Regions from separate parts of the Homo sapiens genome. Here region 1 is linked to region 2. Evidence: promoter capture Hi-C in 16 types of primary human blood cells and fetal thymus (Javierre and others, 2016). All regions are on one chromosome and are shown on one strand. Each heading gives the region's core, a stretch centred on a gene start or on the middle of the fragment in contact. The rest is flanking DNA. Distances are from core to core; before and after follow the strand shown.

The links. The method cuts DNA at HindIII sites, captures the fragments that hold promoters and counts their contacts. A CHiCAGO score of 5 or more calls a contact.
Region 1: a contact is called between a fragment that was not itself captured here and the fragment with the promoter of ARFIP2 in region 2, in 2 of 17 cell types (non-activated CD4 T cells and activated CD4 T cells). The highest score is 7.3, in non-activated CD4 T cells.

What each region holds. Positions count from the first base shown.
Region 1 is chr11:5,615,354-5,619,159 of GRCh38, reverse strand. All of the region lies in intron 7 of TRIM6-TRIM34 (TRIM6-TRIM34 readthrough), which reads right to left. It also overlaps a transcript of TRIM5 not described here. Among named protein-coding and RNA genes, the nearest start is that of TRIM34, 7.7 kb to the left of the region's middle. The HindIII fragment of the contact is 1,477 bases long and covers 620-2,096 here.
Region 2 is chr11:6,479,246-6,483,073 of GRCh38, reverse strand. It overlaps ARFIP2 (ARF interacting protein 2), which reads left to right and starts at 1,743. Exons shown (of 8, transcript NM_001376558.2): 1 at 1,743-1,843; 2 at 2,611-2,751; 3 at 3,006-3,102; 4 at 3,816-3,828. The coding sequence starts at 2,653. TIMM10B (translocase of inner mitochondrial membrane 10B) reads right to left here and starts at 1,573. Exons shown (of 3, transcript NM_012192.4): 1 at 1,519-1,573; 2 at 1,222-1,317; 3 at 1-1,029. The coding sequence starts at 1,557. The coding sequence ends at 853. RefSeq lists enhancers at 1,465-1,514, 1,995-2,114, 951-2,150. The HindIII fragment of the contact is 2,521 bases long and covers 666-3,186 here.

The sequences.
Region 1 (3,806 bases), core at 109-2,608, 860 kb after region 2:
TAAGTACTTGCAGAGGCTCTTTTTAGGTAATAGGAGTACCAAGTCCACTTGCTACATACACAAAGCTGGTCGTTTTTCCCAGGGAGTTCATATGACTCAGGCTACCCTCATATCACCGTTTGCACACAATACATTGATTCACACATTCTTCATTTTCTCCAGGATTACTGTGAATTTTTACCCAATGACATGAAGCCTGCTCATGTGAGTGATATAAAATGGCTTGTCCTTATCATGCTACACTGATGTTTCCCAAATAAGTCACGGTTTTAGCTTTGTCACTGTTTCTCTCCCAAATCTGCCCTTAATGAGATTTGTGTCCTCCTTATGTCTTATAATTGTACAAAGCTTAAAATAGAATTTCCTCTCATAGTCCAATCTTTTCTCCCCCAGAGTATACTACATTTGATGCTATCTATAATCAATCAAGGTTCAAGAATCAAAACAATCATGTACTTGTGCCATTGTTTTATAGTAGATTAATCAATATGCAATGTATACAGTTTATCATCTAGGTTAATTTTCTCTCTTCTTTTACCCTGTATATCCATTGACATTCCTGACTGTGGTGTTAAAATTTGCATATGAAATGATTTTATTTTGTTTTTCAACATAAGCTTTCAACTTAAAGTTTTCATCATTATCTTGGTCACGTAAGCTAGACCCCAAGTTTAATATTACTTATATCATTTATGAGTAATATAGGAGTCTATTCCTTCATTAGGCCTAAGATTACATTTTGAGCATTATACATTACTTTGACTATTTGTTTGTTTGTTTGTTTGTTTTTGAGATGGAGTCTCACTCTGTTGCCCAGGCTGGAGTGCAGTGGTGTGATCTCGGCTCACTGCAACCTTTGCCTCCTGGGTTCAAGCGATTCCCCTGCCTCAGCCTCCCAAGTAGCTGGAATTACAGGCGCGGGCCACCATGCCCGGCTAATTTTTGTATTTTTAGTAGAGATGGGGTTTCACCATGTTGGTCAGGCTGGTCAAACAGTAAATATTTTAGGATTTGCAGGTCAAGCAGTCTCTGTTGCAACCAGTCAACACTGCTGTTGTAACTTGAAAGCAGTCACAGATGATACATAAATAAGCATGGTGATATTCCAATAAAGTACATTTACAAAAATAGGTATCAAAGTAGGATTTGACTCACACACTGACCTTTTCAGATTTCTAACAGACAGAAATGAATAAAAATGTTGCCTCTGAATTTTGCTGCCCTGTTTTGTAGGTCAATTCTGCCACTTCATATGTGTCCAACTTTGAGCAAATTCTTTCATCTCACTGTACCTCCATTTTCTCATTTTTTTTAAAAAAAGGATAATGACAGTACCTATTTTCATAGGACCACTATAAAGATTGAGCCCAGGCCATGCGCGGTGGCCCAAGCCTGTAATTCCAGCACTTTGGGAGGCTGAGGCAGGTGGATCACCTGAGGTCAGGAGTTTGAGACCAGCCTGGCTAACATGGCGAAACCCCGTCTCTACTAAAAAACACAAAAATTAGACAGGCGTGGTGGTTGATGCCTGTAATCCCAGCTACTCGGGAGGCCGAGGCTGGTGAATCGCTTGAACCTGGGAGGCGAAGGTTGCAGTGAGCCGAGATCGTGCCATTGCACTCCAGCCTGGGCAACAAGAGCAAAACTCTGCCTGAAAAAAAAAAAAAAAAAAAGATTGAGTCCATATATATAATGTATAGAAACGTGATTGACACAGAGGAAGCGATATAGAAAACTCAGTTGCTGTCTTCATACAAGTACCCTCAGTGGTCAGGTGGAAATGTGTGTGATTCAAATGTATGTGTTGACTTTCAGTTCAAAAATGTGAGGGTTTCCTTCGATCTCTTGAAATAAAGGCCAATGCTTAGCTGAGATAGGCAATAATGCCTTAAACTTGCAGTTCTATCTTGATTTCTCTCCTAACATTTCTCCTCTGCTTTTTCAAAGATTCCAAAATAGACTCCATTTCCCTAATTGTTTTTCATATTTTAATTATTTGCCCTTCAAATACTAGTATGTTTTCAAGATGGATAAAAATGAATCAATATTTTATTTCTTTGTTGATTCCTTATTTGACAAGAGCCTGTACCTAAGCTTGCATTTATTTAAAAAAAAAAAAAAAAAGCTGGGCGTGGTGGCTTATGCCTGTAATCCCAGCACTTTGAGAGGCCGAGGCAGGTGGATCACCTGAGGCTGAGAGTTTGAGATCAGCCTGGCCAACATGGTGAAACACTGTCTCTACTAAAAATACAAAAATTAGCCGAAGGTGGCAGGCACCTTTCATCCCAGGTACTTGGGAGGCTGAGGCAGGAGAATCGCTTGAACCCAGGAGGCAGAGGTTGCAGTGAGCCGAGATCGTGCCACTGCACTCCAGCATGGGCAACAGGAGGGAGACTCCATCTCAAGGAAAAAAAAAAAAAAAGGTTATTCTCGGCCTCAAACATCAACCCCATGAGAACCTGAGAACTAGCCCTTCACCAATCAAATGTAATGTTTCAAATCTTGGAACCCTAAAACCCCAAATTTATCTTCTAAAAGATGGTTGAAATAAACCTTGCACAGAATATGCCTTTGTTTTATCCCCTAACTGACTGAGTCTCTGTGAAGGCAAGGGCTAGACTGTATGCACAAAGCAGTTATACAGCAAATGTTTAAAAAACTGAGAGTCCCATGGAATCAAGATCATTTCTGACAAAATATAAAGTAGCAAAATATTTAAATTTTAATTAAAACTAAGTTAAAATGCCAACTCAAGCAGTAACTTGTTGGGAAAAATGAAGATAACTATATTATTTACCTAGAGCAACTACATGCCACTTAAATACTTTTCTTTTTTTTGAGACAGTGTTTCGCTCTTGTTGCCCAGGCTGGAGTACGAAGACACAAATAGTTTAAAAGTAAAAAGATGAGGCCGGGCGCGGTGGCTCACGCCTGTAATCCCAGCACTTTGGGAGGCCGAGGCGGGTGGATCACGAAGTCAGGAGATCGAGACCATCCTGGCCAACACGGTGAAACCCCGCCTCTACTAAAAATACAAAAAAATTAGCCGGGCGTGGTGGTGGGCGCCTGTAGTCCCAGCTACTCGGGAGGCTGAGGCAGGAGAATGGCGTGAACCCGGGAGGCGGAGCTTGCAGTGAGCCGAGATCGCGCCACGTCACTCAACTGCGCCATGTCACTCCAGCCTGGGAGACAGAGCGAGACTCCGTCTCAAAAAAAAAAAAAAAAATGAAAAGATATGTTATGAAAACAATAATCAAAAGAAAGCTGGGCTGGGCACGGTGGCTCACGCCGGTAATTCCAGCACTTTGGGAGGCCGAGGCGGGTGGATCACCTGAGGTCAGGAGTTCGAGACCAATATGACCAACATGGTGAAACCCCGTCTCTACTAAAAATACAATATTAGCCGGACGTGGTGGCAGGTGCCTGTAATCCCAGCTACTCGGGAGGCTGAGGCAGGAGAATCACTTAAACCCAGGAGGCAGAGGTTGCAGTTAGCCAAGATCACGCCACTGCACTCCAGCCTGGATGACAGAACGAGACTCCATCTCAAACAAACAAACAACAACAACAACAAAAAAAAAACAAAAAACAAGAAAGCTGGAGTGGCTAAATTAATACCTAACAAAGTAGAATTTGGAGAAAAAGATATTAGTAGAGATAGAGGGTCATTCCATAATGAGAAAGGGGTGTCAGTTCATCAACAGGATGTAACATTCCTAAATGTGTATGCTCCTTACAAAAGAGCTTCAAAAATCAGAAAGCAAAATCTCATAGAATTGCAGGAGAAATAGGCAAATCCACAAATA
Region 2 (3,828 bases), core at 494-2,993:
AACCACACAGACCTTTGTTCAAAGGTTTTACTGCTCATCCTGAGAAGACTGTACATACTAAGAAAGTAACAACCTGGGGAAATGGCTGAAGTTCCAAAAGACTCCAGACTTCTTACAGGTTTCATCTCTCTTCTGTGGCCACTAACTTCCCAAGGAGGCAGTGCCCAAAAGCCCTGTGGTTTTTTGATCCGTTGTACTTCGATAGCTCCTCCTTTCCCTAGATCCAGCAGAACTCTAGACATGTAAGACATAGTTCACAAAACAACAGTTATGAACCAACAAATACTTGGCTCACGGTTATGAGCCACTGAAGTCAGTCAGACTTAAGGACAACTAGACAGAGCTCCCATTTTCTGTCATCTGGGCAGGAACCAATCTCCTGTTGTATAAAATGACCTTCTGGTACTTTCTGGAATCTTGCTTCCTCATCTGTTAAGTGAGGCTAATACCGCTTACTCATAGTTTTGTTGTGAAGATGAACTAAGAGCATGACATATTACCCGTTTTAAAATTGTACACACAGACCCTGCTTTAACCAGATGCCTGCAAATGCTCAGGTTTTCCTTCTACATATAGAAAACAATTTCTCAGCTGCCAGGGCTGAAGCCAGCAGATATGCACTAAACGACAGAACAACGGATTGTGCCAATAAAGTAGGCAAAGCTTCCTTGCCCAGAATATAAATCAAACTGAGTAAAAACTGGGTATATTGGCTCCAGGAAAAGGAGCAAGGACACCCAGCTTTCAGGCAACCTCGAATTCTCTCTGTTTAGGATTCACCAACCCCAAGGTCCACCGGGTCCTTCAATCTGAGGGTCCATCCAAGGCCTTCCTTCCTGGGGTTGGGTATGGCTAGCTGCCTGATGGAGAGACCCCAGGCTGTTCAGCAGCAACGCCTGGCACAGCCGAGGCAGCCTCGTAGTCTGCGATGCGGCGCTGTACCAGGGCAGGCATGAGCTGCACGTAAGCGGCCATGAGGCGGTGGTTGGAATGGATCAGCTTCCCAGCACAGCTGTGCAGACAGGCCTCCTAGAAGGAAGATAGGGTTTAAGTGGAGGATAAAGGTGCCCTGTCGGGTCCGCCTCCTTTCTTCCCCATGCCCAGCCTAGGGGTGAGGGTCGTGGGAAGGCCAGGGCCAGAGGTACGGGAAGTGGGGTGAGGAGGGAAGCAGTCTACCGCTAAACTCTTCTTGCAGCGTAACCTCCCTACACAGTTCCCCACCTCCTCAGCGTCCAGAGCTCGGTGGTGCAAGCTGGGCACACAGCGCTGGAAGCAGAGTTCTGTCATCCGATTGTAGACCAACAGGAAGTCACGCAGCTGAGAGAAAAGGGGGACCACAAACTCAGCGATAAGGGCCCCACACTTCTAGTCAAGGTCGCGCCGCCCAAAGTTTCCCAGGCCCGCGCGCCATAGCCCGAAGTTTCCAGCCCTCAAATCCCTGGCCCTGTGGGGTTCCCGCGATGTGTGCAGGAATGCGAGCTGAACGTCTGGCCTCGAAACGACTTAGTTCTCACTTACGTTTCGCAGTTGCTGTTGCTGCTGCTGCTGCCGCTCCATCACGCCACCGGCGCATGCCGTACGCCACTTCCGTTTCAGCTTCTCGGTGCCGCCCCGGAAGTAACCTCTCGCTGATCTCGAGAGCTAGCTCGAGTATCGCCCTGCCCTGGCTGCGACGTCAGCTCCGCCCTTATAATCTGCGACGTGGCCGGCTTCTTCTGCCCGGAGAGGACGTCATTTCCGCCGAGTCCCTGACCTGCTGCTAGGATCGCGACGGGAACTGGAGCCCGAGGTCCCCGCGCGGCCCGGGCCTGGCGCCCTGAGGGGAAGAGCGGCCCGGCCCGAGGTGAGAGGAACATGCTTGGGCGACGGGAAGTTGAACGCACAAACCTGTCCAGAGGGCAAGATGCCCCGAGCCCCGGGGAAGGATGAGGACACACCTGATGTCCAGGTGTATGGGGGTGGGGGCGGGGACTCACACACCTGGGAGACATAACTGACTGTGGAAGGGTCACCGATATCCTGGGAGAGAGAGGCTTTTACCAGAGACTGGGAACATACACCCACTGATCTAACTAAGGCCTGGTGGGGAGGGCCCGAGGAAGACGAGGTGTATGAGACGGAGGAGGGGAGACCCCCTGAAGGAAGGGGGAAGAAACGCTAAAGGAATGTGAAAGGCCAAGCAATGGAGAACAAACCTGAATAGGGGGGTGAAGACCTGAGCCCTGGAAAGGGTTCATCTCCTCAGCATAAACACGCCTGCATGGAGATAAGTTCTAAGAGAGCAGACTTTCCCTCTTCACTGTTGTATTTTCATTGTCACAAATAGTGCCTGACACATAGTAGGCACTCACTAAATGTCTGCTGAATGAGTGTAGAAATAATCACCAGAGTCCTGGTGAGGTTGGGGGCTTGTGAGAAGACACCGTGCTTTGGTGTGCCTGTTTCAAATGTGCGTTTTGGAGGGGAGAAATACATATATCTGAAGAAAGGAATGATGGCCAAACGCTGGGACACTCAAACCCTGGGACAGCCTTTAAAGAAATGACAGAGGAGGCCTCCTTCTTCTAGAGTGCTGGCCAGTGTCCAGAACTTCTGTGTTGGGCTTTGCAGGGTGCTGGGGTGGAGAGTTTTACTCCAATACCTTTCCTAGCCATGACGGACGGGATCCTAGGGAAGGCAGCCACAATGGAGATCCCTATCCACGGGAACGGCGAAGCCAGGCAGCTTCCTGAAGATGATGGGCTGGAGCAGGTGCTTCTGTTTGATTCTTCTAATTGTTTCAATTTAGGAATCCAATTTATAAATCCTAGGTTCTCACCCTCCATTCCAGTAGCCTTCCCCTGACTTATCTGACTCCCTTCATTCTTTTTACGTATCATTTTGATTCTGTGCAGACTTCCCTTGTGTACTATCTTTATGATGCTTGAATCCAAACTTGTTCCCACCTCCAAAATGCTTCTGCAGCCCCTATGTTCCTGAAGCAACCCCTCTTCTCTGGCCTATAGGACCTCCAGCAGGTGATGGTGTCAGGACCCAACCTCAATGAAACCAGCATTGTGTCTGGTGGCTATGGGGGCTCTGGTGATGGACTCATCCCCACAGGTATGAATGTTCAGAAACAGGAATCTTGGGTGGAGGAGGGGACAGGAATGGTTTGGGGAAGCATAGGATATGTCTAGGAAAGCTTGAATTATGTCTGGAGATCTTGGGAACTTCTGCTTGTAGGAACCTCATGGACTCTCCTCAGCCCAAAAGCAACTCCCAGCGTTGTCCATCCATTTCCCTTTTGCCACTTAGCCCCTGAAATGGCTCATTTGTCCTTTCCCTGCCACCACCTGAGTCAAGTTAAGACCTGCTTCACAGGAATGCCCCCCCTCTACAGCTTGAGGCTGAGTTGGAACTTTGTGAAGCTTCTCAGAATTTTTAGATTCTAAAGTTTAGAGGAACAAACAGCCCTGAATCTCACACTAAGATTCCACATGGGAATGCAACCAGGTTTCTTGTTATCATGACCCACCATCCTTGACTCCTGCTGCCCCCAAACTCAGTGTATTTTCTTCTGTTTCCTCTGCCCCTGTACACCAACAACTCCCTGCAAACCCCTCCTCTAACCCCCAAGGAGGCCATATGTATATCAGGATTTGGTTCTCACCGCGCAAAGTCCGAGTTCCTCCTAGTAAGCAGGAGCATCCAGTTGTCTCTAGCATCTCCTTCAGGGAAGTCAATTTCATGTGCTCGAAGAGAAGTATGGGTGGGGCCACAGAGGTGTCTGGTGTATCTGAGAGAGGCTGGTGTCAGAGAACTTGATCCTTTAGGGTCTGGCCGCCA